Regions from separate parts of the Homo sapiens genome. Here all the other regions are linked to region 4. Evidence: promoter capture Hi-C in human tissues and cell types (Jung and others, 2019). All regions are on one chromosome and are shown on one strand. Each heading gives the region's core, a stretch centred on a gene start or on the middle of the fragment in contact. The rest is flanking DNA. Distances are from core to core; before and after follow the strand shown. Region 1 overlaps GALNT13 (polypeptide N-acetylgalactosaminyltransferase 13). Region 2 overlaps GALNT13 (polypeptide N-acetylgalactosaminyltransferase 13). Region 3 has its middle 37 kb from the start of GALNT13. Region 4 holds the start of GALNT13 (polypeptide N-acetylgalactosaminyltransferase 13).

Region 1 (7,631 bases), core at 638-3,137, 34 kb after region 4:
TGTCTTCTGGATATTGTAAAGCTTAAATGAGATAAATCACCTAAATGGCTCTTGGTAGCAGCGAATTTTAAATAAAAGTTATGTTTATTAAAATTTATCTCAGGTAACAGTTTTCTATTTTTCAATTTCACCTACATAATTATTACTCTTTTAAGCTTTTTGCTTTGAATTTTTACGCATTAAGGAGACAGAGCAATGATTTTCACAAGCAAAGACCCATGTAACCATCCCACAGGTCAAGAAATAGAACAATTGCTGCATCTCCAATCCTACTTTTTCTGCCTGCCAGCCATTACCTCCTTTCCATCAGTTTCCCGTGGATGACATTATTCCTGATATTTGTGGGAATTACTTCCTTGCTTTTCATTATAGTTTTAACTTTAAATAATGTATCCTTATATGCAAAATATTGGTTTAGCCTGATTTTTAAATTAATGTACATAATATTCATATGACACACATTCTTCAGTGTATGGTGTCCTTTTCTGAATGTATGTTTGTTTTTAAGTTTCTTTAATGTTTTTGTGTGGTTCATTAATTTTCATTGCTATATAGTATTCCATTGTATAGAAATACTACAGAATATTTATTCATTGTATTGTTGATGGACATTTGTGCTCTTTCTAGGTTTGGGCCATTACCCAAATGTAATGCTGCCATAAACATTCTTTTAAATGTGTTTTTGCTAAATATGTACATATATTTCTCTTGAATATATACTTAGCAATGGAATTTCTTAGTCATATTGCATGCAATCTTTCAACTTTAGTAGATACTACCAGACAGTATTCCAAAGTAACTATACTAATTTCACTTCATTCATTAGTGTGTAAGAGTTTCCATTGTTTCATCTTTACCAAAGATTAGTATAATCATTTCTTTTAATTTTAGCCATTCTGGTGAGAGTTTGGTTTACATTTTCTTGTTGATTAATATGATTATGTCATGTAGCTTAATAGCCATGAACATATTATTGTCTATAAATTTCCTGTTCATATGTGTATTTTTCTATTGTGTTGATTTTTAAAATTGTTAATATTCACAAGTTAGTTACACTAGATTAAGAGCCTCCCATCAGTTAAATATGCTGCAAAGTTCTCCTTTTCTATGATTTGGTTTTTCAATTTCTTAATGAGGTTTTTTTGATGTTCCTAATTTTAATTTTAATCATTATATCACCTCATTATGTTTATATCTTTCCACTTGCCTTCATTTTTGTGAGTGATGTGAGGTAGAAGTCAAGTTCTAGATATCCAGTTGTTATAGAATCATACTGGACAATTCTCTCCTTCGCCCACTGTTCTTTAATGTCATATTTACTATAAATTAAATTTCTATATATGTCTGGGTCTTTTAGGAGCCAACTTCTATTTAATTGGATTATTAGTCTCTTCTTACCACTTATAACACTATTTTAACTATGGCTACTTTTTAAATATTCTTAATATCTATTAAAACAAGTTCTTCTACCACATGTTATTCAAAGGCATGTTGACTTTGCCTTCTTTCATGTAAATTTTAGAATTACTTTGTCAAGTTAACAAGAATAATTGTTTAGATTTTAGTTAGAATTGCATTCAATCTATTGTTAAGTAAATTTTTAAAGAGCTGGTGTAATTACAATATTAACTGATTTCATTTATGAACATAATATATACAGCATTTCCTCCTTATTAACTGGGGACACATTCCAAGATCCCCAGTGGATGCCTGAAACTGCAAATAGTACTAAACCTTATATATAGACTATGGTTTTTTCTATATATACATACCTCTGATAAAGTTTAATTTATAACTTAGGCACAGGAAGAAATTAACAACAACTAATAATAAAATAGAACAATTATAACAATATACTGTAATAAAAGTTATGTGAATATAGTCTCCTTGTCTCTCAAAGTATGTTATTGTACTGTACTTAACCTGCTTCTTGTGATGATGTGAGATAATACAATGCCTACATGATGAGATGAAGTCTTGTGAATGATTTTGGTCATAACTTTCATAGTTTGAGGTGCAACAGCAAAACTAACATAAATCTCTTGTTCTTTCTTCACAATTTCAAGGACAGAAGAAGCATTCTTACCATAGAGCTTAGCAACGTGAGCAAACAACTTTTTCCCTTTATTATTTTCTTAAAGGAAACACTTTATGGCTTCTCTTTGGCATATTCAAATTGCCAACATCACCAGTCTTGTAATTTGGGTCCATTATTAAGTAATATAACGGTGACTTGAATACAAACACTGTGATAACTTTAGCAATCAATCTGATAACCGATATGGCTACTAAGTGGCTATTGGGTGGGTTGTGAATGTAGCATGAGGATGCTGGACAAAGGAATGATTAAAGTCCTAGGAGGAATAGAGCAGAGCCATGGGAAATTTCATCAAGCTACACAGAACAGCACACCATTTAAAATTATAAATTGTTTATTTCTGGAATTTTCCATTTAATATTTTTGGACCACAGTTGACGATGAGTAACTGGAACCATGGAAGGCAAAACCATAAGTAAGGGGGGACTTATTTATTTTGATCTTTTAGTTTCTCTTAATCCCATGTCTGGTTGTTTTTTTTTAATGTTGAGTTCAAGCTAATTTTTCTTTTTTTCTTTTTTTTTAAATTTTATTATTATTATACTTTAAGTTTTAGGGTACATGTGCACAATGTGCAGGTTTGTTACATATGTATACATGTGCCATGTTGGTGTGCTGCACCTATTAACTCATCATTTAGCATTAGGTATATCTCCTAATGCTATCCCTCCCCCCTCCCCCCACTCCACAACAGTCCCCAGAGTGTGATGTTCCCCTTCCTGTGTCCATGTGTTCTCATTATTCAATTCCCACCTATGAGTGAGAACATGCAGTGTTTGGTTTTTTGTCCTTGTGATAGTTTGCTGAGAATTATGGTTTCCAGTTTCATCCATGTCCCTACAAAGGACACGAACTCATCATTTTTTATGGCTGCATAGTATTCCATGGTGTATATGTGCCACATTTTCTTAATCCAGTCTATCGTTGTTGGACATTTGGGTTGGTTCCAAGTCTTTGCTATTGTGAATAGTGCTGCAATAAACATACGTGTGCATGTGTCTTTATAGCAGCATGATTTATAATCCTTTGGGTATATACCCAGTAATGGGATGGCTGGGTCAAATGGTATTTCTAGTTCTAGATCCCTGAGGAATCGCCACACTGACTTCCACAATGGCTGAACTAGTTTACAGTCCCACCAACAGTGTAAAAGTGTTCCTATTTCTCCACATCCTCTCCAGCACCTGTTGTTTCCTGACTTTTTAATGATCGCCATTCTAACTGGTGTGAGATGGTATCTCATTGTGGTTTTGATTTGCATTTCTCTGATGGCCAGTGATGATGAGCGTTTTTTCATGTGTTTTTTGGCTGCATAAATGTCTTCTTTTGAGAAGTGTCTGTTCATATCCTTTGCCCAGTTTTTGATGGGGTTGTTTGTTTTTTTCTTGTAAATTTGTTTGAGTTCATTGTAGATTCTGGATATTAGCCCTTTGTCAGATGAGTAGGTTGCGAAAATTTTCTCCCATTTTGTAGGTTGCCTTTTCACTCTGATGGTAGTTTCTTTTGCTGTGCAGAAGGGTTTTTTGTTTAGAGGTCTTATGTATTTTGGTTAATTTGTGCCTAGAAGTTTAATGCAGTTTAATATTAAGATTATATATATACACACACACATATAATTATATACATATGTATCATATACATATAATTACATACATAATAATACATACATATTATATACACTTTTTTAACTTTTATTTTAGGTTTAGGGGTACATGAGCAGGTTTGTTATGTAGGTAAACTTGTGTCATGGGGGTTTGTTGTACAGATTATTTTGTCACTGGAATACTAAGCCTCGTACCTAATGGTTATTTTTTTCTGTTCCTCTACCTCCTGCCACCCTCTATCCTAAGGTAGAGTTCATTGTCTGTTTTTCCCTTCTTTGTGTCCATGTGTTCTGATCACTTAGCCTCCACTTACAAATGAGAACATGTGGTATTTGTTTTCTGTTCCTGCCTTGGTTTGCTAAGGATGATGGCCTCCAGCTCCATCCATGTTACTGCAAAGGATATGATCTAATTTTTTTGTGTGTGTGGCTGTATAGTTTTCCATAGTGTATATGTGCCACATTTTCTTTATCCATTCTACCATTGATGGGCATTTAGGTTGATTCCATATCTTTGTCATTGTGAATAGTGCTGCAATTAACATATGTGTGCATGTGTCTTTATGGTAGGATAATTTATATTCCTTTATGTATATACCCAGTAATGGGATTGCTGGGTTGAATGGTAATTTTGTTTTTAACTCTTTGAGGAATCATGACATTGCTTTCCACAATAGTTGAACTAATTTACACTCCCACCAGCAAGCAGTGTGTAAGTGTTCCCTTTCGCCACAACCTTGTCTGTTCTGTTATTTGACTTTTTCATAATAGCCATTCTGACTGGTGTAAGATGGTATCTCATGGTGGTTTTGGTTTCCATTTCTCTAATGATCAGTGATAGTGAGCTTTTTCATGTGATTGTTTGCCACATTTATGAAAAGTGTTGGTTCATGTCCTCCGCCCACTGTTTAATGGGGTTGTTTACTTTTTCATTGTAATTTAAGTTCCTTATAGATGCTGGATATTAGAGCTTTGTCAGATGCATAGTTTGCATATATATTTCCCATTCTATAGGTTGTCTGCTTACTCTGTTGATAGTTTCTTTTTCTGCACAGAAGCTCTTCAGTTGAGTTAGATCCCATTTGTCAATTTTTGCTTTTGTTGCAATTGCTTTTGGTGTTTTTGTCGTGAAACCTTTAACAGGTTCTTCATCCAGAATGGTATTTTCTAGGTTGTCTTCCAGAGTTTTTATAGTTTTGGGTTTTACATTTAAGTCTTTAATCCATCTTGAGTTGATTTTTCTATGTGGTATAAAGAAGGAGTCCAGTTTCAATCTTCTGCATATGGCTAGCCTGTTATCCAAGCACACTCCCATTGAATAGGGAGTCCATTCCTCATTGCTTTCTTTTGTTGACTTTGTGGAAGACCAGATGGTTGTAGGTGTGCAGCCTTAATTCTGGGCTCTCTATTCTATTCCATTGGCCTATATGTCTGCCTTTGTACCAGTACCATGCCATTTTTTTATTGTAGCTCTGTAGTATAGTTTGAAGTTGGTAACATAATGCGTCCAACTTTGTTCTTTTTGCTGAGATATCTTGCCTTGGATATTTGGGCTCTTTTTTGGTTCCATATGAATTTTAAAATATATTTTTCTAGTTCTGCCAATAATGTTATTTATAGTTTGATAGGGATAGCATTGAATCTATAAATTGCTTTGGGCAGTATGGCCATTTTAATGATATTGATTCCTCCTATCCATGAGATCCATGAACATGGAGTGTTTTTCTATTTGTTTGTGTCATCTCTGATTGCTTTGAGCAGTGTTTTGTGATTCTCATTGTAGAGATCTTTCACCTCCCTGGTTAACTATATTCCTAGGTATTTTGTCACAGTTGTGAATGGGATTGCTTTCCTGACTTGGTTCTCAGCTTGGCTGTCATTGCCATATAGGATTTTTAATGTGATTTTTGTACATTTTTTGCTAGTTTGTACAGATTTTGCTAGTAATTTTTGTACATTGACTTTTTATCCTGAAACTTTGCTGAGGTTTATCAGTTTAAGGAGCTTTCAAGCTGAGATTGTGGGGTTTTCTAGATACAGAAACACATCATCTGCAAACAGGAATAGTTTGACTCCCTTTCTTTCTGTATGTATATGCTTTATTTCTTTCTCTTGATGGATCTCTGTGGCCAGGACTTTCAATACTATGTTTAATAGGAGTGGTGAGAGGGGGCATCCTTGTCTTGTGTGGCTTTTCAAGGGTAATGCTTTTGCCCATTTATGTGATGTTTGCTGTGGTTTTGTCATAGATGGCTCTTACTATTTTGAGGTATGTTCCTTCAATATGTAGCTTGTTGAGAGTTTTTAACATGAAGGGATGTTGAATTTTGTCAAACATCTTTTCAGCTTCTATTGCAATAAACATGTGGTTTTGACTTTTACCTCTGTTTTTGTAATGAATTACATTTATTGATTTGCATATGTTGAATCAACCTTGCATTCCAGGGATAAAGCCTACTTGATCATGGTGGATTAGCTTTTTGATGGCACTGCTGGATTTGGTTTGCTGGTATTTTGTTGAGGATTTTTTAATCTATCCTCATCAAGAATTTTGGCCTGAAGTTTTCTCTTTTGGTTGTGTCACTGCAAGGTTTTGGTATCAGGATGATGCTGGCCTCATAGAATGAGTTGGGGAGGAGTCCCTCTTCCTCATTTTTTTGGAATAATTGCACTAGGAATGGTACCAGCCCTTCTTTGTATGTCTGGTAGACTTTGTCGGTGAATCCTTCTGGCCCTGGCTAGGCTTTTTTTTTTTTGGTTGGTAGACTATTTATTACTGATTCAATTTCAGAATTCATTATTGGTCTGTTCATGGATTCAGTTTCTTCCTGGTTTAGTCATGGGAGGGTATATGTGCTCAGGTATCTATCCATTTCATGTTGATTTTTGAGTTTGTGTGAATAGAGGTATTCGTAGTAGTCTCTGATGGTTATATATGTGTGTTTCTGTAGGGATAGTGGTTATTGCCTTTGTCATTTCTGATTGTGTTTATCTTCTATCTTTTTCTCTTTATTAGCCTAGCTAGTTTCTATCCATCTTTTTAATTTTCTCAAAATGCCAACTCCTGGATTCATTGATCTTTTGAATGGTTTTTTTATGTGTCAATCTCTTTCAGTTCAGCATTGATTATGTTTGTTTCTGGTCTTCTGCTAGCTTTGGAGTTGATTTCTTCTTGCTTCTCTACTTCTTTTATTTGTGATGGTGGGTTGTTAATTTGAGATCTTTCTAAGTTTTTGATGTGGGCATTTTGTGCTTCAAATTTTCATCTTAACACCGCCTTATCTGTGTCCCAGAGATCCTAGTACGTTGTAGCTTTGTTCTTATTAGTTTCAAAGACCTTCTTGATTTCTGTCTTAATTTCATTATTTACCCCAAATCATTCTGAAGCAGGTTAATTTCCATGTAATTGTATGGTTTTGAGTGATTTTCTTGAATTCTCTTTTTTTGTGTGCTGTTGTCTGAGAGAGTAGTTGCTATGATTTCAGTTCTTTTGCATTTGCTGATTGTTTTATGTCCTATTGTGTGGTTGATTTTAGTGTATGTGCCATGTGGCAATGAGAATAATGTATATTCTGTTGTTTTTGGATGGAGAGTCCTATAGGTATCTATCAGGTCCATTTGGTCCTTTTGAGTTCAAGTCCTAAATGTCTTTGCTAACTTTCCGCCTTGATGATCTGTCCAGTACTGTCAGTGGAGTGTTGAAATCTCCCACTATTATTGCATGGAAGTCGAAATTTCCTTGAAGGTCACTAAGAACTTCCTTTGTGAATCTGGATGCTTCTCAGTTGGGTGTATATACGTTTAGAATAGTCAGGTCTTGTCAACCTGAATCCTTTACCATTATGTAATGCCCTCTTTTGATCTTTGTTGATTTAAAGTCTGCTTTGCCTAAAATTAGGATTGTAACCCTAGTGTTTTTATGTTTTCCAT
Region 2 (7,009 bases), core at 3,206-5,705, 54 kb after region 4:
CTCCATAGTAGAGGAAGAAAATACAGTAAATTTGGAAAAGATGGCAGAAACAATTGACACATGGACAAACAACTAACAAATATATCCTGCAGAGCCAATTAAAAACTGAAATATAAAATCCAGGTCAGATGGTTTTTATAATTGAAAAAAGACTATGGATGGCAAATAAGATGAATAAAAAAAGGATATTAGAAATATAATAAGGATAAACATAATTTAAATACGTTAAAATACATCTATAATTTTAAAAATATGAGGAGTGGAATAACCAGGAATTAAAATGACATATAGAAAAAAATCCATGTATCGGTTAGTGGGTTTTATTAATTTAGATTGCTGTCTTTGTACATATCTTTCCCAGAAATGTGAAGCAAAAAGGAAAATAAAATGTTGATTGCTATTCTGCTGGAGTAGAGCTGAATGGATGTGGGAAATCAGAGAATTTTTGTACTGATTATGGTTTTTTGCAGGAAGGGGAGTCATACCAATATTTTCTTCTCAGTTTGAACACAGTTTCATTTCACAGAAATTAATAGATAAGATACTTTGAACTGGAGTACACCTACTGATTTCTTCTGATGTCAGTCAGTTGTTAGAATGTATTTACTATGCTTTTCAAAATCAAAAGAAAATATTATAATCATTCAGCCACATAAACAGTGGAAGATTTTCCTTGGACTAAACAGATCTTTTGATCTTGAAGCTTTATACCTTTCCCATTTAAGCTATGAAAATATATAATCTTTACAGAAAATGTATGGACTGTTTCCTTTTAGAATTTTATCCTTGTCTCAAAAATAAACTATAATTAGAAAAGCTGTCTGTTAGTAACTAATTGCTTCTCCCTGCTATCAAACCAATTATAGAGACTAATTTTAAGAAAGGAAACTTTATAGTTGAGGCAAACTTAGGTAGGTGATAATCCTTCCCCCAACCCTTACTCTCCACCTTCCCCCAGTCCACTATCATGTTTCGCACAGCTAACTTCTGGTGGATAATATGGAAAGAAAAATTGTTTTCAGAAATTGCTTTAATTAGCAATGACTGGCATGAAGTGATAAATGGAAATGAATATTTTAGAAACTCAGAGATATATTATTTAATAATTATATTAAAGTAATAAGGTCATTTGAAGTAGCATTTTTATTTTTATTTTTTATTTTAATTTTTAAATTTTTTATTTTTTGAAACAGAGTCTCCCTCTGTCACCCAGGCTGGAGTGCAGCGGTGTGATCTGGGCTCACTGCAACCTCCGCCTCCCGGGTTCAAGCAATTCTCCTGCCTCAGCCTCCTGAGTAGCTGGGATTACAGGCGCCTGCCACAGTGCTTGGCTAATTTTTGTATTTTTGATAGAGACTGGGTTTCACTATGTTCACCAGGCTGGTCTCAAACTCCTGACCTCAGGTGATCCTCCCACGTCGGCCTCCCAAAGTGCTGGAATTACAGGCATGAGCCACTGTGCCTGGCCTGAAATAGCATTTTTAGATTAGACATTTAAAAACAGAATAAAATGTATGTATTAGTTAATAGCTTTATTAATTCAGGTTGCTGCTTTTGTACATATCTTTGCCAGAAATGTGAAGTGAAAAGGAAAATAAAATGTTGATTGCTGTTCTGCTGGATTAATAGCAAATTATAATAGAACCAATTACATTCGTTATATACTACTACTTTATTAGTTATGTACTTTTTTGGCTTTTGAATAAAATCATACTCTACCTTGCTTACTTTTAACAGGGAGAGTATTTTCTTCATGTTGATTTGATTTTGGAATCTGATTTTTTTTGTTAAATCTCAATCATGGTTGTTTTTATTTTTTTTTATTATACTTTAAGTTCTAGGGTACATGTGCACAACATGCAGGTTTGTTACATATGTATACATGTGCCATGTTGGTGTGCTGCACCCATTAACTTGTCATTTACATTAGGTATATCTCCTAATGCTATCCCTTCCCCCTCCCCCGACCCCACAACAGGCCCCCATGTGTGATATTCCCCTTCCTGTGTCCAAGTGTTCTCATTGTTCAATTCCTACCTATGAGTGAGAACATGCGGTGTTTGTTTTTTTGTCCTTGTGATAGTTTGCTGAGAATGATGGTTTCCAGCTTCATCCATGTCCCTACGAAGGACATGAACTCATCATTTTTTATGGCTGCATAGTATTCCATGGTGTATATGTGCCACATTTTCTTAATCCAGCCTATCATTGATGGACATTTGGGTTGGTTCCAAGTCTTTGCTATTGTGAATAGTGCCACAATAAACATACATGTGCATGTGTCTTTATAGCAGCATGTCAATCATGATTTTTTAAAATTTCCAACTTTTATTTTTAAATTCAGGGGTACATGTGCAGGATGTACAGGATTGTTACATAGGTAAATGTGTTCCATTGTGGTTTGCTGCACAGATCATCCCATCACCTTTGTATTAAGCCGAGCATCCATTAGCTATTCTTCCTGATGCACTCCCTCTTCCCACCCCCACCCTCAGATAGTCCCTGGTGTATCTTGTTTGCCCCCATGTGTCTATGTGTTCTCATCCTTCAGCTTCCACTTATAAATGAGAACATGTGATATTTGGTTTTCTGTTCTGCATTAGTTTGCTGAGGATAGTGGCTTCCAGCTCCATCCATGTTCCTGCACAGGACATGATCTCATTCCTTTTTATGGCTGCATAATATTCCATGGTGTATATATACCACATTTTCTTTATCCAGTCTATTGTTGATAGACATTTAGATTGATTCCATGTCGTTGCTATTGTGAATAGTTCTGCAATGAACATGTGCCTTTATGTATCTTTATAAAAGAACAGTTTATATTCCTTTGGGTATATACCCAGTAATGAGATTGCTGGATCAAATGGCATTTCTGCCTCTAGGTCTTTGAGGAATTGCCATACTGCCTTCCACAATGGTTGAACTAATTTATACTCTCACCAACAGTATATAAGCGTCCCTTTTTCTCCACGACCTCGTCAGCATCTGTTGTTTTTTTACTTTTTAATAATAGCCATTCTTATTGGTGTGAGATGATATCTCACTGTGTTTTTGATTTGCATTTCTCTAATGATCCGTGACGTTGAGCTTTTTTTCATGTTTGTTGGCCACATGTATGTTTTCTTTTGAAAAGTGTCTGCTCATGTCCTTTGTGCACTTTTTGATGCCATTGTTTTTGGCTTGTAAATTTGCTTAAGTTCCTTATAGATGTTAGGTATTAGGCCTTTGTCAGATGGATAGATTACAAAAATTTTGTCCCATTCTGTAGGTTATCTGTTTATTTTGTTGATAATTTCTTTGCTGTGCAGAAGCTCTTTAATTTAATTAGATTCCATTTGTCAATTTTTGCTTTCGTTGCAATTGCTTTGGCATCTTTGTCATGACATCTTGGCCTGTGCCTATGTCCTGAATGGTATTGCCTATGTTTTCTCCTAGGGGTTTTATAGTTTTGGGTATGTATTCACATATTTAATCCATCTTGAGTTGATTTTTGTATATGGTATAAGGAAGGGGTCCAGTTTCAATTTTCTGCATATGGCTAGCCAGTTGTCCCAGCACTATTTATTAAATAGGGAATGCTTTCCCCATTGCTTGTTTTTTTCAGGTTTGTCAAAGATCAGATAGTTGTAGGTGCGCAGTCTTATTTCTGGGTTCTGCATTCTGTTCCATTGGTCTATGTGTCTGTTCTTGTACCTGTACCATGCTGTTTTGGTTACTTTAGCTGTATAGTATAGTTTGGCATCAGGTAGCATGAAGCCTCGAGCTTTTTTTTTTTTTTTTGCTTAGGATTGTCTTGGCTATTTGAGCTCTTTTTTGGTTCCATATGAATTTTAAAATTCTTTTTTCTGATTCTGTGAGGAATGTCAATGGTAGTTTAATGAAAATAGCATTGAATCTGTAAATTGCTTTAGGCAGGATGACCATTTTCACGATATTGATTCTTCCTATCCGTGAGCATGGAATGTTTTTCCATTTGTTTTGTGTCATCTCTGATTTCTTTTAGCAGTGCTTTGTAGTTCCCCTTGAAGAGGTCCTTTATTTCCCTTGTCAGTTGTATTTCTAAGTATTTTATTCTTTTTGTGGCAGTTGTGAATGGAAGTTCATTTGTGATTTGGTTGTATGCCTGTTGTTGGTGTATAGGAATGCTAGCGATTTTTGCACATTGATTTTGTATCCTGAAACTTTGCTGAAGTTGCTTATCAGATTAAGAAGCTTTTGGGCTGAGATGATGGAGTTTTCTAGATTTAGGATCATGTTACCTGCAAACAAAGATAGTTTGACTTCCCCTCTTCCCATTCTAATACCCTTTATTTCTTTCTCTTGCCTGTCAATCATGATTTTTTTCAAATTGTGGTACACTATTAATAGGAGACAACGCTTTTCTAAAGCAGAAATCACTACGCATCTCAGATACCTCAAGTTGCATGTGATTTTAATTTAAATAATATAAAAAAGAATAATGTTCTAGGGTCCAAGTATATGTTTTCAATATATTAAAATTTATTTACATGAGATGAATATACAATTTATTGGTGTTTTTTTCTTTTCTGAAGATTTAATTGGATTTGAGGGAAATACAGGCTGCAATGGTGGGAATAGTTAAAAGTGAGTAGTCTTTTCCACTTTAAATAATCACTTTTAAATATGGTCCTGATGGATTTAAGGTTGTATTTGTTTAAACAAAAGCCACATATACAACTAGAAAGAGATAGTTCCTGAATTTTGGTTAAGAGTCCAGGTTTGAAAAGTTAGCCATTTTCTTCAAAAGAATGTGGAGTTTTAAAATAATTTCACATTTGAGGCAAATTCTTATCTTTCCAGAGACTGTAATACTAGAGACTAGTAAAAGTTAGAATTTTGGAAACAGATTACTTAAATCAGGCTTCGTTTTAATGGGGAATTCTGTCTTCCTTTTCTTTCTCATTTATTCTGTTTTGTGAATAACCCTTGACAGTCCTTTGGGTCTGTTGGTCTATATTTGCACGGTTTTCATGACTGTATGCGTGCCATGTACTCACGTACACATCGGCACAAATATCAGATGAGTCAGAAATTTAGTCCGTATCACTATTATTGGTGATTTTCTTATTACTTTAAAATAAAACATATATCTTCCTCATTATTCAGATAATAAATACTATTTCTAGTTACTATATAAAATCACAAAACGCATTAGAGAAGCACAATGAAAATTCCCACATTTACACGTTTTTCCAATGCTTGTATATGAATAAGTTAAAAAACAGTTGCAATCATAGTGCATTCATAAGTAGACATTGCAATTTTTAAAAATAGTGTCATAATATCTCTTAACTTAAAGTCTTTTCTCAATATGGGGTATTTAAAACAGTGTTCAGTGGAGAAATTACTAGTTCAAAGTATATGATAATTTTTAAGAAAATGGGTCAAAAATCTTATTTTTAATAAACGCTATTTCTTTCCAAAAATGTTTTTACCAATTTATGTTTCTATCTGCAAAGAAAGAAAGGACCCGTTTATCCCATCTTTGCTAAAATATAATTTTGTTACAAATAGTATTTAATTTTGATTTATAGTCCTTTAATATGCACAATTATTAATTAAATTAATTAGAAGTTTTGCAGAATGATAGGGGAAATGTCGCTTTGTTTACAGGTTGGCTTTTCATGTGCTTGTACACATAATGGTAATCTCTGCTTACCTGTTATATCTCGCATTATATTTTTCCTTTTCTCCTATATTTATGGCAGATTTTCTTGTTTTTTAACATCTGTGTTTTCTATTAATGGATTATACACTCCATTATATTAGTTGCTTTATATTGATTGACAAATTATCATCTTTAGCAATATTATATGACAAGTTTTCTTTGCTAATAAGAATATGAATTTTAAGTCCATGAGGACTTGAAACTTTTACTTTACTGTTAATTAATTGGAGAGTATTCAATATTTGGAATATTTAGTTCTTTATGTAATTATTTACTTCTTTCCTCTAATTGCCTGTCTTTTAAGGCACTTAACTTATGATTAACAACTTTACCAGGAAGTTTGCAGGAAAAAAACCGAAGCTCCAAGTCAAATTATTAAATATGTTTATATAAGCTTTAATGAGTTGTTTTGTTTTTTCCCCTGTGGAAGAAGACTATTTCACCTATTAATACTTTATTAACTAGTTTAAGAAAAGAGTGCATTTATTCCATGGATAAGATGTTGTTAAAAATCAATCATTAAAATATGGGAGCAGACAAATAAAACTTTGTTTACATTTGTGCAAGTTTAGTATACCTCTAGAGTACCCTGTAAAAGCCCCTTCTTCATCTCCCCTTTATGCTACTGGGGGTTCTTTTGTGTCTAGGGTTCTGTGCTTTTGTTTGACTTTATTTCACTTTCTATCCCCCATTAATTGTCAACCAGACTAGTCAGAGTGACTCTGATACAATTTTACAAGATAATATATTATTCCTCATTATTTTTCTACAAATAAATGCCCCTGTTTTGAAATGGAAGCCTAGATAAGAAATAACCACATTATTCTACACATTTCAAAGAAAGAACACTTGTAATATATTTCTTACATATTTTGTCATGAAGAATTCAGAAGCCTTAAGGCCAACTAGGAAGCTGCAGTTTAGATTTTCTAATGGTTGGATGTCTCAGTGGAAACATTTATTTTCTTTTTAATCAGGAGATTTATGGCAGAAGATGGCCAGCTAGCTGATAGATGTCTACTGGGAACTGTCTAAATGCTCTAGTGTTGTTTTAAATCTCTAGTTTTATATCTACTTGAACATTCTGAATTTCTCCCTTCCCCTCTTGAGGACTATTAATGAACAAGCTTGAATCATTGGTTTGCCGTGTTATAAGATGAACACTGAGCAGTCATTAAATGCTATATCAAATGAACTATGATAAATTTTTAGGTTGATGAATAGGATTTTTAAAATCACTAAATTTCATTATGTTTTTGAGGCCCATATATTCCTTTTTAAAAGCTTTCTTTATGAGGACTTCTTAATTTCATTATA
Region 3 (7,271 bases), core at 3,937-6,436, 35 kb before region 4:
GGCAAGGACAGGATCATGGGGCTTGCTTCTTCTCATCGGCTTCCTGTGGGAATTGTGCTCTTCTCTTCCCATGAGTATCTTCCTAGAATGCTTCTTCCCTTTGGTAGCAGCAATTCCTTCTTGTAGCAGCCACTGTATCCATTTTGCAGATTTCCGAACCCTCACAGAATCAGCCTCATCACGCCTCAGCACCCAGAAACCCAGCACCGTTGCCAATGCCCTCTCTTGACTCTGTGGGAGGCCCTCCTCGACTTCAAATTAATAATAAATCCAGCGTCTTCCCTGTTTCCTCAGCCTTAGCAGTGTTAACTGCGTCCGTTGGTGCTATCTCTGTGTTTCTACAGTTCTCTTTTGAGTCACCCAGTTGGCAGCTTCCTACTTCTACGTCCTGATTGGGTTCATTTGCTTTCCTGAGTGGACTCTCGCTAATAACTGGAAGCATAGCGTATCTCTTCATTTATTGTCTTCTTTGAACTCTGTTAACAGAAATTTATAGTTCTTGTTCTATACTCGTGTGACATATTTCTAGTTAATTATGAGGTACTTTATATTTTGTTGTTTGTGTGTGTGGGCTAGCTTTGTCATAAATCTTTGAGCAGGTCATTGCCAGAATAAAGGAAAACTTTTAATTCCATGTCGATTTTAAGTAATTAATTTTTTCTGAAGTTTAATGAAAGAAGAGAACTGTATGTTTCAGAGCATAATCACTGGAGATGTTTGTAGCTATGTTAAAAGTTTATGCTAATAGCATAAATGAAGTCTACCTGGTTCCATCAATGCCTGAATAATCTGACTGTATCACAATTGACATTCACTGGGAAAAAATGAAGAAGGCATAGTGGAGACTAACAAAGGACAAGGAAGATCACAGCAGACATTGCTAAAAATAAAAATTATTTCCAAAAGAAATGCTATTCATAGTGAATTATATATGTTATTGGTGATGATCTGTGAAGGCATAAAATAGAATTTCATTATTTTAGTATGAGAGTCTCGATAGGTCAATTTTGCCATAATCAAAACAAGTTCAAAAATAAGTGGAGTTATCATGGGATTTAAGTTGTTCAGGGAATTAGGTATGTAGTTGTAAAAGATCTTTATTTTGACTCCACTACTAATCCGGGGAGTGTGACTAATAAAATAAAAGTTAGTAGTTTTAGTTACAAAATGGCAGAGTTGATTGTTTGCTAACAGATTTCAATATGAATAAATATTACTGATGATATTGTTTTGTAGCTCTTCATTTCAGCCAAGGTCAAAATGAAGTAATTAAATTAAAGCTGCAGCAGGAGACTTTAGATCAGGTAGAAGGAGCACTTCTGCTACAAGGGCCATTTTGTAATGTATTTTGGGTACCTAGTTATGTTTTTCTTTAGAAAAGGGATAGACAAACCTTTCCTGTAAAGTGTCAGTAAATATTTTAGGCTCTAAAGCCAGACAGTCTCTGTCACAGCTATGCAATTCTGACTTTTTAATGCAAAAGCAGCCACAGGTAATACTAAACAAATAGGCATGGATATGTCCCAACAAGGCTTTATACAGTAGTCCCCTTTTATCCTCTATTTTGCTTTCCATGGCTTCAATTGCCTGTGGTCAAGCTTGGTCTGAAAATATTAAATGGGAAATTCCAGAAATAAACAATTCACGAGTTTTAAGTTGCCCACCATTCTGAGTAGCCTGATGAAAATCTTGCACTGTCCCTCTCCATCTTGTTCAGGATGTGAATTATCTTTCTCCAGCATCTCCATGCTGACTATGCTCCCTGCCACCTAGTCATTTAGTAGCCCTTTTGGTCATCAGATCACCTATCCTGGTATTGCAGTGCTTGAATTCATGTAATCCTTATTTTACTTAATAATGTCACCAAAGCACAAGCATAGTGATGGTGGTAATTCTGACATGATAAGTAGAAGCTATAACACACTTTTTTAAAAGTAGAAACATGAAAGTTCTAGACTTAATAAGAATAAAAATTGTAATTTGAGGTTGCTAAGATCTACAGTAAGAACAAATCTTCTATTTAAAAGTAGAAACATGAAAGTTCTAGACTTAATAAGAACAAAAATTGTAACTTGAGGTTGCTAAGATCTACGGTAAGAACAAATCTTCTATCTGTGAAATTGTGAAGAAAGAAGTCTCACAGTATAATGTTTTAATTGTTCTATTTTATTAGTAATTGTTGATAATCTCTTAGTGTATCAAATTTAACTGAAACATTATCACAAGCATGTATGTATTGGAGAAAACATGATGTACATACGGTTCAGTACTACCAATGTTCTTAGGCATGCACTAGGCGTCTTGAAATGAATCTTTCATAGACAAGGGAAGACTACTTTATACGAAACAAGCAGCAGGCCAGATTTGGGTCATAGATTGAATATTGCCAACCCCTGTTTTAGAAGACTGGAAACAGAAATTGTAAAATCAACTCTCCAGGTAGAACCATTTTGGGAGATTTATATTTTGGCACGTCTCAAAATATGGTGGTAGCTTGGGGATTCTATGCCACCAAGCTTTCTATTCCTTTTTGATTCCCTTCTTAGTATAATATTGGACAGCCATACCTTTCAGTCTTCAGAATTATCACTCCGAAAAGAGTGGTGTGATTTCTTAACAATGTTACTGATAAAAAATTAATTTTTTTTGTGATTTAGGCATACTCAATTTTGTTTTTATCATATTAAATTGAAAAAGTTAATATACCGGCTTGCCTGTCTTCACCCCCTTGTAAGGAAATTTGTACCACTTGTAGCTGTTTTTAGTTAGGCGGGTATATTTTCTGTTGTAAAGCTCTCTCACTCCCAGGACCCAGAGAATGTGCTTAATCTAGGGAAGCCCTACCACAGGCTGGACACCATGCTAAAATGAGACTGCAAGATATGCAAACTGGAAAGTTGCCAGAGGCCAGGCAGATAATATAAAAGAATGAAGGAGGCCAGATTAAACAGTAGCTCACTTTCTTCTGCTTAGAAGCTCTTCTCTAAAATATGCCAGGGCATAAAGACAAAGATAAAAGCCAAAGAATCTCAGCCTTATTGTAGGACAGAGTTGGGAGTGGTGGCAACCTGGAGAGCACAGGCTCTGTCCAGGGGACTGTAGCTAATCAGCACCAAGTAATTGTTAGCATAAACAAAATGCCAAGTGTTGTCAGCTCTTGTTTTTTCAAGGGATGGCAAAAATTAGGATATTTTGGTAAAAGTTACCAATTTATAAATATTGGGAGTTAATACAATTTTTTAATACTTTAGTGGAGGGGAGGCAAGAGTATCTATGCTCAAAACATATCTGAAAGTTTAAAATGACTATTGAGTCACCATTTACAACTTCTATAGTACACATTGATTTTCTTTTTGGGGAACATGAATTTGGAAAGATAATGAGGCATACAACAGGCTTATATAACATGTATAATGGGAGGAAAGGAACTGACAAAACATGAGGTGGAGTTGGAGCCATGGCAAGATGAAGCTGTCTGTACCTAGAACATAGTCCATGCCTTGTAAATATTTGCTTTTCAATGGGGATAAGCATATTTTCAACTTAAATATTTGAACAACCATGAAGTATGAGTAAGCAGAGTTAAGTCAATTGGTAGAAACTCAATTGAGAGAAGAGCAGAAAAGACACGCGAAGAAAAATTGAAACTCAAGAGGAGGTAATTAAGTCTGTGAAAAAGAAGAGAAGACAGTCTGGTCCTTGAAGTTGCCTCCTCTCATGGTACTTTTTCTTTCTAGTTCTAGACTTTTTCCTCTTGTAATCTTACAGCAAAACTTCTTATCCTGAGCTGACTTGGATGGATTTTTTAAATATATATACTTAAAAGAACCTGAACCAAGCATAAAACATTATAGCGTATATCTGGTTGTTTTAGGTAGTGAGTACAGGGTCATGGTGGTTAATCTTACATGTTGTATCCCAAGAAAACTCACATGCAAGATAGATAGAATTGCAAAACACAAGAATTATTTATGTCCAACAATGTACTTTCTTATTAATTCACTTAAGATTATAATATTTGTTACCTGTCATTCAAAGCATCTGATGCAATATTTGGTACCAGTGATAGTTTGAGTAATAAAAAATAATTAGAATAAAGAATGCAGTCATTTAAAAAATACAAATTTAATGAAAGGGGTTTTGGTTCTATGATGAAATGGTTTTAATGTTATAGTTTCTGGGAAACTGGAATCTTGAAGGTTTTGATTTAAATTCCTTTAAATTGAAATTAATAAACTTAAAACTTACTTTTAAAATATAGAAATACTTTGATAAAACCCAATTTGTCTATGCTTCATAATATAAAAGAGTGAATTTCATCTACTTATCACATATATTTACATGATTATTTTAGTGCTATCACTTCCTGTCATATTAAAATACTTTAAATATATGTTTCAATAACAAATTTTGGATTTATGGAAACCAGCAGATTAACTCTTATATTTTGATGGGTAATGAGCTCACTTGCTCCATATGACTTGACTGATCTGGCCATTCTAAGATTGAATATCAGATTACTCTTCTCTAAGTAATATGTCCATTTTAGCTTTGCCATTTTGGGGGGAATAGTGAACCTATCAAAAGCATTGAGTTTGCCTTAATGTGCTCTATGTTATGAAGCTAATATGAATTTATCTTGTCCCCTGATCTATGGTTAAGATAAAATAATTTTAGGAGTCTTTAATCCTAGACTTTCAATCCCAAATTGGCAAATTACCTAAATATATCTGGAAAAGATGCAATCTCAGCTATGTCTTTGACATCTGAATGCAAAGAAGGTGAAATAACACATGGGGCAATTTATTGATGTGATAAGACAAGGAGAAAATGTTTTTATTGTATATATTTAAAGTGCACAACCTGATATTTTGATATACCTATATATTGTATAATAGTTACCATAATTAAGCTTATTATCACATCTATCACCTCATACAATTGCCATTGTTTTCTTGCGGTTAGAACACTTAAAATCTACTCTTAGCAAATTTCAAGTACATTATTAACTATTGTCATCATGCTACACATTAGATCTTCAGAATATATTCATCTTAGAAAGTTTGTACTGTATGACAGAAATTCTCTTATTTCCTCCCCCATCCCATAACCTGGCAACCATTGTTCTTTTTTTTTTTATATTTATTATACTTTAAGTTTTAGGGTACATGTGCACAATGTGCAGGTTAGTTACATATGTATACATGTGCCATGCTGGTGTGCTGTACCCATTAACTCGTCATTTAACATTAGGTATATCTCCTAATGCTATCCCTCCCCCTCCCCCCTCCCCACAACGGTCCCCAGAGTGTGATGTTCCCCTTCCTGTGTACATGTGATCTCATTGTTCAATTCCCATCTATGAGTGAGAACATGCGGTGTTTGGTTTTTTGTCCTTGCGATAGTTTACTGAGAATGATGATTTCCAACTTCATCCATGTCCCTACAAAGGACATGAACTCATCATTCTTTATGGCTGCATAGTATTCCGTGGTGTATATGTGCCACATTTTCTTAATCCAGTCTATCATTGTTGGACATTTGGGTTGGTTCAAAGTCTTTGCTATTGTGAATAGTGCCGCAATAAACATACATGTGCATGTGTCTTTATAGCAGCATGACTTATAGTCCTTTGGGTATATACCCAGTAATGGGATGGCTGGGTCAAATGGTATTTCTAGTTCTAGATCCCTGGGGAATCGCCACACTGACTTCCACAATGGTTGAACTAGTTTCCAGTCCCACCAACAGTGTAAAAGTGTTCCTATTTCTCCACAACCTCTCCAGCACCTGTTGTTTCCTGACTTTTTAATGATTGCCATTCTAACTGGTGTGAGATGATACCTCATTGTGGTTTTGATTTGCATTTCTCTGATGGCCAGTGATGATGAGCATTTTTTCATGTGTCTGTTGGCTGCATAAATGTCTTCTTTTGAGAAGTGTCTGTTCATATCCTTTGCCCAGTTTTTGATGGGGTTGTTTGTTTTTTTCTTGTAAATTTGTTTGAGTTCATTGTAGATTCTGGATATTAGCCCTTTGTCAGATACTCACCTGGCAACCATTGTTCCATTCTGTTTCTATGAGTTCAGCATTTTTAGATTCCATGTATTTAACTGAGATTATGCAGTATTTGCCTTTCTGTTTCTGGCTTATTCCACTTAGCATAATGTTTTCTAGATTCATCCATTTTATTGCAAATCAGTATTTCATTCTTTTTCTAGGCTGAATAATATTCTACTCTATGTAACTATATCTATAGATAGACATCACATTTTCTTTATCCATTCATTTGTCAATGAATATTGAGGTTGATTCTACATCTTGGCTATTGGGAATAATGCTGCAATGCACGTGGGAATGCAGAAATCTCTTCCAGATACTAATTTTACTTTCTTTGCATATATTCCCAGAAATAGGTTTGCTGGATCATGTGGTAGCTATAATTTTAGTGTTTTAAGGAATCTCCTTACTTTTTTCCATAATGGCTATACCAATTTATATAATAGTTTCAATAATGTACAAGTGTTTCCTTTTCTCCAATCCTCACCAATATTTATTATCATTTGACTTTTTAATAATAACCTTTCTAACAAGTGTGAGGTGACATCTCGTTGTTTTGATTTGCAATTCTTTGATAATTAGTTGAGCACCTTTTCATATACATGTTGGACATTTGTATATCTTCTTTGGATAAATCTCTATTCAGGTCCTTTGTCCATTTTTAACTATTTTGCTACTGTGTTGTATGAGTTCTTTATATATTTCGAATGTTAAACACTGTCAGATATAAAGTTTGCAAATATTTTGTCCCATTCTATAGGTGGCCTTTTCATTTTGTTGATTTTTCCCTTTCCTCTGCAGAAACTTTTTAGTTTGATGTAGTCCCACTTGTTTATTTTTGCTTTTGTTGCTTGTGCTTTTGGTGTGATATCCAAAAAAGCATTGTCCAGACCAATGTCATGTGGTTTTCCCCCTATATTTCTTCTAGGATTTTTATGGTTTCAAACCCTATATTTAAGTCTTTAATTCACTTTGAGTAGTTTTTGTATGTGGTGTAAGATAAGGGTCCAATTTTATTGGATATAACCAATTTATTTTTGGGTATATCCAGTTTTCCCAGCCCCTTCATTGAAGGGACGGCCCTTTCCCCATTGTGTATTTTTGATGCCTTCATTGAAGATTAGTTGAGTTTGTATGAGTTTTTATTTTCCTTTATTTTGAGCTCTCAATTCTACTCTATTGGTGCAAAAGTCTGTTTTAATGCCAGTTCC
Region 4 (7,679 bases), core at 4,480-6,979:
GGAGATATACCTAATGCTAGATGACGAGTTAGTGGGTGCAGCGCACCAGCACGGCACATGTATACATATGTAACTAACCTGCACAATGTGCACATGCACCCTAAAACTTAAAGTATAATAAAAAAAAATAAATGGTTGGATTTATTTATCCATTCAACAGGAATTTACTGTACGAAAGGCACTGTGCTTTGAATAAAGTTACAACAACCACCTCCCTTTATAAACAAATAAATCTATTTTTTTTGCTCTCATATATCCTACTATATAGTGGAGAAAATATATACAAATCACCGTCATGGAAAAATGTAAATTTGCCACTGTGTTTGGTGCAAATGACAGATGATATAAGGCTTTATGGATAATAAGATAAACTAGAGCAAATTTGAGTGTATTAGTATAAAGCTTAGTTTAAAACTAATTATACTTTCTTCATGTCATGAAATTATTGTTACAAAACCTATAATAATAAGATATATTGAATCATAAGACTTCCAAATAAAACAAATAAAACTTTAAAACTTTTAATGAGATATTGCTTTCATAAAGTCAACATTTTAACAAAAGATTTTATGCTTGAAGTAGCTATATTATTTACTGATTGTGACATTTTAAATGATTGTGTAATAGGTTTATCATCATAAATGATGAGAAAATTTGTCTGCACAAGTATAGGTGAGAAAGATTGTAAACATTTGCTTCTATGACCAAATATTTACATCAGTTAAAATCTTATTTAAAATATATCATCTCTACTTTTCTTTCATTAATTGATTCAAATTTTTTTGTGGCTATCCATGGATTTTATCAAATCTATTCAACATAATGATAAAGCTTGAATATGAAGAATGCCCGTGCATTATAAGAACAGTCAATCTGCAGCTGACATGGTTACCACTAAAATAACAAATCAACTATATATGAAATAGAATTACTTAATCTTTATGTTGCTAAATCTTTGTGTTATTAGCTGGAGCTATTCCCACTAGCAGTTTCTGCCCAACCTCCTTGCTTTCCCACCCACAATGGGCTATACTTTGAACTGCACATGCAGGCCATTCTCCAAGAAGCTCTTATCAAGTTTCTTATGATCCAGGCTATCTAATTACGGGCCCTAGCAACTTGAGGCTACACTACTTGGCTACTTCTGATGGGTGTAGTGATCGATATGTTATGGCATATCTATAAACTATTTGTGGTGCATGAGTTGAAAAGCTCAACTCTTAGCCTATTTCAATTTTCTTCTAGAATTTATTATCACCTGACGTAAATACACACCTACTTATTTATTTGGTTAGGATAGCCCTCCCCAACATTTTTGGCCCCAGGGACCAGTTTTGTGGAAGACAATTTTTCCACAGACTGGGAGAGGGGATGGTTTCAGGATGATTTAAGCACATGACGTTTATTGTGTACTTTATTTCTATTATTATTACATTGAAATATATTATGAAATAATTATCTAACTCACCATAATGTAGAATCAGTGGGAGCCCTCGGCTTGTATTCCTGCAACTAGATGGTCCCATCTGGGGGTGATGGGAGATAGTGACAGATCATCAGGCATTAGATTCTCATAAGGAGCACAACCTAGTTCCCTCACATGTGCAGTTCACAATAGGGTTCACACTCCTAAGAGAATCTAATGCTGCTGCTGATCTTACAGGAGGTGGAGCTCAGGCAGTAATGTGAGCAATGAGGAGTGGCTATAAATACAGATGAAGCTTCACTGGCTCACCCATCCCTCATATCCTTCTGTGTGGCCCAGTTCCTAACAGGCCATGGACTGCCATAGGTCTGTGGTTCGGGGGTTGCAGACCTTTGGGTTAGGACATACCTCAGCAAAATGTAGTATTCATGAAGGCAGGATCTATATCTTTTTTCTCACTGCTAGACAGTGCTAGGCATTTTCTTCTTCTCACTGGTAGGCACTGGGAATATAGCAGTGAGCATTAGCCTTAGCTCACTGCTGTATTCCCAGTTCCTAGTAAATAACTGTCATTCTGTAAGTGCTCAATGTATATTCATGGGATGTATGACTGAACCCTAAGTTTTGTGCAGGCTGTCTTTACTTTCCTCTTTGTCTTCAAAACCTATTGCAGTGCTTAGCTCATTGTAAGTACAAAGGAGGTAAGCAGAGCCCCAGAGTATAAAGGTTCTTATAGGGCATGTTAGAGATTTTAGACAATTTCTTAAAATCAATGAGAAGCCACTTAAATGTTATAATTAGAAGAAAATATTATTAGATTTCATTTTAGAAAATAAAGTTATTGCTTTCAGTGTCCCTTAATAATGGCATCTCCATCATCCTACTCATCCAATCTTAATCTCTTAAAGTTATATAATACATTTTCCTTTATCCATCATTCCTAATAATTTGCCAAAACCTGGTAATTTAATTTCAGCAAGACATAACTATCTCACCCTTTATTTCCCTTTAGAATGAGCGCCTTGGTTAATCACATAATGGACAATTGTAGCTGCTAAACTCATATCCCTGTCTTTTGTATACTCTGTAGCTAAGGCCCTATACATTTGGCCTTATATTGGCCAATAGACATTCTTGGCCTGGTAGCCCTTGTATTGGCCTTATAGCCAAGAATTGTACAGTATTGGTCTTACCATTTATCTAAGCAAATACTTGCAATAGCTCCACTTTGATTAAAGATAAATGCCAAACTTTCTGTTTGAAAAAATATGACTTTTTAATAACTTTCAACACTCATTCAGATAAATTATTGTGGTTATTATTCTTATGAGGTAAATAATGATAACTACCTGATTTTTAAAAAAGTATTTAAACTTCAAGAAATATTGCAAAATTACTACAAAGAATTAACACATACCCCTCACCAAAATTTACCAATGGTGTTATAAAAGGTTGCCACATTTGCATCATCATTCTCTCTATAGGTATTTCTGGACCTTACAACCTCTATGTTCTTTTTACTGCAAAATATTTTATTATATTTTTTAAAGATCCAGGGCTTTCTTATATATGATCACAATACAATTAAATTAGGACACTTAATATTGATATAAAACTAATTTGATTATAAATAAAAGTCATACAGTTTAGATATTATAGTTTTTATTAATATTTTGAATTAGATTGTCTCAGTAATGCTCTTTATATTAATAGATATTATTCCCAGTTTGCTCTCCAATTCTGGATTACACATTGCATTTAGTAGTCATGGTTTTTAAATCTCCATTAGTCTGGAATATTTCCTCAGCTTTTCTTTGACTTTCATCACAGTGACATTTTTGAAAAGTATAGGCAAGATATTGTGTAGAATTTTCCTTAATTTAAGGCTTTCTTTGCTTTCTCGTGATTGCATTCAATTATGCATTTTTTAATCTGGAATCCTAAATCAATAATGTTATGTACTTCTCAGTGCATCATATCATGAGGCTCATGATATCACTTGGTCCCATTATTGGTGACTTTAACCTTGGTCAGTTGGTTAAGGTGATGTTTACCAGATTTATCCACTACATGTAATTTATTATTCGTTTGTAATTAAGGATCTATAGTATATTATAAAAACAGCCTCAAGTTATTTTTGTGTATGCATTCTCCTTGAAATATGGCATTATAGTTTCTCCCATCAAGACATGGACTATATTATCTATGTTTGGGCCATGTAACTTCCATGGCTAATGAGACACCAGCAAATGTACGTCCACAGAATCTCAGAGTACTTCACATTGGAGCTTGCACTCCCTTGTTGCTTTTTGGAGCCCTGCAACTACGACTACTGCTAGCCTATTGAAGGATGATGGGCTAGATTAAACAAAAGACAAAACATTGCAGCTGAGTCCCACACCCTCAAGACTAATAAGTATGCCACACCAGACAAGTGAGTGAAGCCATCCTAGATCTCTAAACCAAACTGAGCTAGCCAGGGCAGAAACCAACCTGACAACCCACAGAGCTTTGAGAAATTACAGATGTTTATTGGTTGGGGCTAATAAGTTTTGGAATGGTGTGTTATGCACCAAAAGCCAATACTTTCTAGGGTGATACTTTGGGACTACGTAAATATCCAATTACCCAAATAAATTTTACCAAGTTTATGATTCTGCCTAAGTTAAATATTATCACAAAGACTGCAAAATGGAATTGCGCCTTTTTTTAAGAGATGAAACATGTAAGAATGGGGGCTTATTTGTCTTTGAAAAACATAGGACTAGTAAGTAGCTGTATCAGCATCAGAACCCCAATCTTTTACCTGGTCCACAGTTTTTCTCAGTATGCCATGTAGAGGTGAGTGACCTGATGTTAGGACTGGAATTCACTAGAGAGAGCAGTAGAGAGACATTCCAGAGTGTTATGAGTGGGACCCTGTGTACTCACACATGCACAGAAGCATCTCTGGTAAATGCTCCATAATTGACGGTAGGGCAGGATGGACAATGTAGGAGGAGACATTAATACAGTTATTAACATAGAAATTTAAATGATACTTGACTCACGAAAAGATATAAAGATAATATCTCTGGAAATTGCCTTTCATGAGTATAATCAAGAATGGCATTGACATACTAGATTATGATTAATAGTATCATATGTTTGTCAAACGTGGCTGTTTAATATTTTTATGTAGTCGTTATATCCTCCCCCAATTCTGCCAAAAACATCCTATAAGATGTGTGAAGTGACACTGTGAGAAGCAAGGACCCCTGTCAGCCCTTATTACAAACAAGACAACTGACACCCGAAGGGCCAAAACTAGCCAAGAGCCACAGTGAATAAATTGCCAAGCAGGCACTTGAACTCGGCAATCCCAATTTCCTAGAAAAGTTCCTCTCCCATGGCAGTGGGGGACAGGTCCCAAGTCTTTGAGACGCTAATAATGTCTGCGTCTTAGGTTTCTGCCTTGTGCCAGGCACTGTTCTAAAATCTTTACATGTATTTAAACTCAGTACCATGGGGGTATTGGTACAACACATTAACTGAGACATTCATACGTCCAGGTACTTCGGAGTGGGTGTGTGTTTAATATCATACCTACTTGCCTGAGAAAGGAATTCAAAGCCCCACTTTTTTCTTTACCTCTTCATAAAAATTTGAGAGCCACAAGGAAGCGCTCTGTGTTTCCAGTACTCTTACAGTGCGTTCGGTGGCAGTAGTCACCGCCAACCAGAACACTAGGATCCTGCCAGGGTGTAGATACTGTAACCAACAAGAGGCCAACCTCCGTCCTTTCTGCGGAGGGCGCCGAAGCGTCAAGTACCCCGCAGCATCTCTCGGCTGGAGAGCCGACGGCAAGGGTGGGGTTGCCGGCGCTTTCCCCGAGGGCAGTCTCTGATCCTCCAGCTCCCCTCTAAGAGGCTCCCTGGTGCATTGGGCGAACGCGGTGCACGCAGGCCGGCTTTGGCGTTGTGGGGCCCCAAAGCGGCCAGGGGTCGCGAGGCGCCCTCCGGCGAGAGGAGCTGACCCCAGGGTTGCTCTTGGGGGCCGTGCCTGCCAAGTATCGCGGGACTTGCGCACATCGCAGAAGCGCCAGCTCCAGAAGCAGCTGGAGCGCGCTCGGTGCGCACCGCCCCAGCCCGGGGAGGAGCGGGAGCAGGGAGGGAGGAGGGCTGGGGGTGCTGGTTACGTAAATGATACTAGCCCAGTGAGAGGCCTCCAGGCTGGGGCTACGAGAGGAGGAGGGACCACGCGAGGAGGAGGGACCGGGAGGCGGCGGGCTGGGGTGGGAGGGGGGCGGGGGCCGGGGAGAAGTGACCAGGCGGCGGCGGCTCTGCTGAGGTGACAACGTGCTAGCAGCCCTCGCTCGCTCTGGGCGCCTCCTCGGCCTCAGCGTCCGCTCTGGCCGCGCTCGAGGAGCCCTTCAGCCCGCCGCTGCGCTATGAAGGCCCCTCTCTGGGGCTGGCCGAGGCTGGAGCCGGCTCCCTCTGCTCGCGGGCAAGTGTGAAGAGAGAGGCGCGGGCGGGAGCCGGGGCTGCGCGCGGCGCTCGCGGGCCGGCGCGGGTTCCAGGTGAGCGCGGACTCGGCGAGCCCCGCACTCGGCGCGGCCGGCCGGCGCCTGCTGGGCTTGATCTGAGGCTGAATCCCGTGTGTGGACCGCCGTTCCCTCTTCGCGGGATCGTTGGCCAGGATAGCAGGTCTCCGTCTCTTTCTCGCTTCCCCTCTTTTCCTCTTGATTGTCTGGGACGAGCTCCCTCTGGGCTGCCAGAGTGCCGGGGCTAGGTGCCGCAAAGTCCCGCGGCGAGTGCCGGGGCGCGGAGCCGAGCGCCCCGGGCCGGTCCCAGGGCAAAGGCAGGGGCGCGGGCGGACCTGGCGACGCGGCCTCCCGGGAGCTCCGAGTGCGCTCGCTTGCGGGGCTGCAGGTGTTGCGGGAGGACCGCGTGGCGCGGAACTTTCTGCCGCCGCCCACCTTCTGCTCTGCTTTTCTGGCTACCCCGGTGAGTTGTTGGTGGCGGGGGGGGGGGGGGGAGCGGCTCTGGCCCCCTCTGCGTTCTGGTGACGTTCCTCCGCGGGGGTGGCTCGGCCTCCAAGCCCAGACAACTTTCTCGCACCAGCTGCAGGCAGCCCCGGCTGCGTTGCGGGCGTTTCTACTCGACCCGACACCAGGCGCTCCCTGGGTCTTGGGTGTCTTCCTCGACGGTTGCCTTCGTATAGTGCCCCCTTTGCCTCGCTTTTTCAGAGTCCTCTTGCCTCTCATTCTCGCCGTGTGTGTCTCTGCCTCTGTTTCTCTTTCTGAGCCTTGGTCCCCTCAGTCCACACTCTCCGGCCATGTATCTGTTTTTTTCTCTTATTCTGTTTCCCTCTTTCTTTCTTGGGATATCTGTGTCCCTGTTAATCTGTCTTTCCTTTTGTCTCTCCGTTTTGCAACATTTGTTCTCTTTCTGTGTCTGCTTCTCGCAGCTTATCTCTGTCTCCCTCTGTCATCTCTCTGCCCCGTCTTCCCGAACACCAGCCCCGCGATCCCGAAGCGCCTTGGTTAGGGGAGCAAGCCCTGGCGCATCTAATGGGTATCTCCAGGTGCAGAGATTTTCCTGCGGGGTCAGTGGGGACGCGGAGGAGACAGCCTGCCCTTGTCCAGGCTGTCGTGGACCTGAAGGAGGGGCGCAAGGGGTTAGAGTGGAGGGCACCGCAGCAGGCTCCCCTTGCCGGGTCCGAGGGCGCTGCGCTGCTGCGAACCTGAGCGCACTGAGGCTGCTACTCTGGACAGCGAAAGCTGCGCAAGCCCCTCCCGCATACCCGATTCTTTGACTATGGTTAGTTGAATTTCCAGGAGGAGAGTCTGCCTCCCCAACCTTTATAGCCAGCTGCAGAAGAACGGACAGTGAGCAGGCAAACATAGATGCTTTGGGGTTCAGGGAAACTAACCTCGAAAGGGTGGGAGCTTTCTTCAGGCAAAGGTGTTGCTAGCAGAGGAGAGGAGCTTTGGGGACTGAGGTATGCCTGCCTTAAACTACCATGCATTCATTGCTTAGGAAAGCGGTTTCCTTGGAGAGATCGTGGTCAGCCTTCCCTGAAACAACATAACAACATAGAGGTTTTATTCGCAAGGCTAAAGGCACTTGGCTGCCAAAGCCCCCTTGAAATTTCTGGTATCCTTGAATATTTTCAGCTTTATGTGAAAGCTGCCTTTCCTCAGAGTCTCAGTCCGTCTCTCTCTCTTTCTCTCTCTCTCTTTTTCTGTGTCTCTCTCTCTCGCTGTCTCCCT

Evidence for each region. Contacts are between HindIII fragments. The study calls those that stand out against the background at their distance.
Region 1: a contact is called between a fragment that was not itself captured here and the fragment with the promoter of GALNT13 in region 4, in 2 of the 25 tissues and cell types used here (liver and ovary).
Region 2: a contact is called between a fragment that was not itself captured here and the fragment with the promoter of GALNT13 in region 4, in 6 of the 25 tissues and cell types used here (aorta, heart left ventricle, hippocampus and 3 more).
Region 3: a fragment that was not itself captured here is called in contact with the fragment with the promoter of GALNT13 in region 4 in 6 of the 25 tissues and cell types used here (dorsolateral prefrontal cortex, hippocampus, mesendoderm cells and 3 more).

Annotation. Positions count from the first base shown.
Region 1 is chr2:153,903,623-153,911,253 of GRCh38, forward strand. The region is part of intron 2 of GALNT13 (polypeptide N-acetylgalactosaminyltransferase 13); the gene reads left to right. Among named protein-coding and RNA genes, the nearest start is that of GALNT13, 36 kb to the left of the region's middle. The HindIII fragment of the contact is 4,425 bases long and covers 1-4,100 here.
Region 2 is chr2:153,921,732-153,928,740 of GRCh38, forward strand. All of the region lies in intron 2 of GALNT13 (polypeptide N-acetylgalactosaminyltransferase 13), which reads left to right. Among named protein-coding and RNA genes, the nearest start is that of GALNT13, 53 kb to the left of the region's middle. The HindIII fragment of the contact is 3,993 bases long and covers 2,460-6,452 here.
Region 3 is chr2:153,831,377-153,838,647 of GRCh38, forward strand. It overlaps a transcript of GALNT13 not described here. Among named protein-coding and RNA genes, the nearest start is that of GALNT13, 37 kb to the right of the region's middle. The HindIII fragment of the contact is 6,259 bases long and covers 2,058-7,271 here.
Region 4 is chr2:153,866,193-153,873,871 of GRCh38, forward strand. GALNT13 (polypeptide N-acetylgalactosaminyltransferase 13) reads left to right here and starts at 5,730. Exons shown (of 13, transcript NM_052917.4): 1 at 5,730-6,111. The HindIII fragment of the contact is 9,874 bases long and covers 1,277-7,679 here.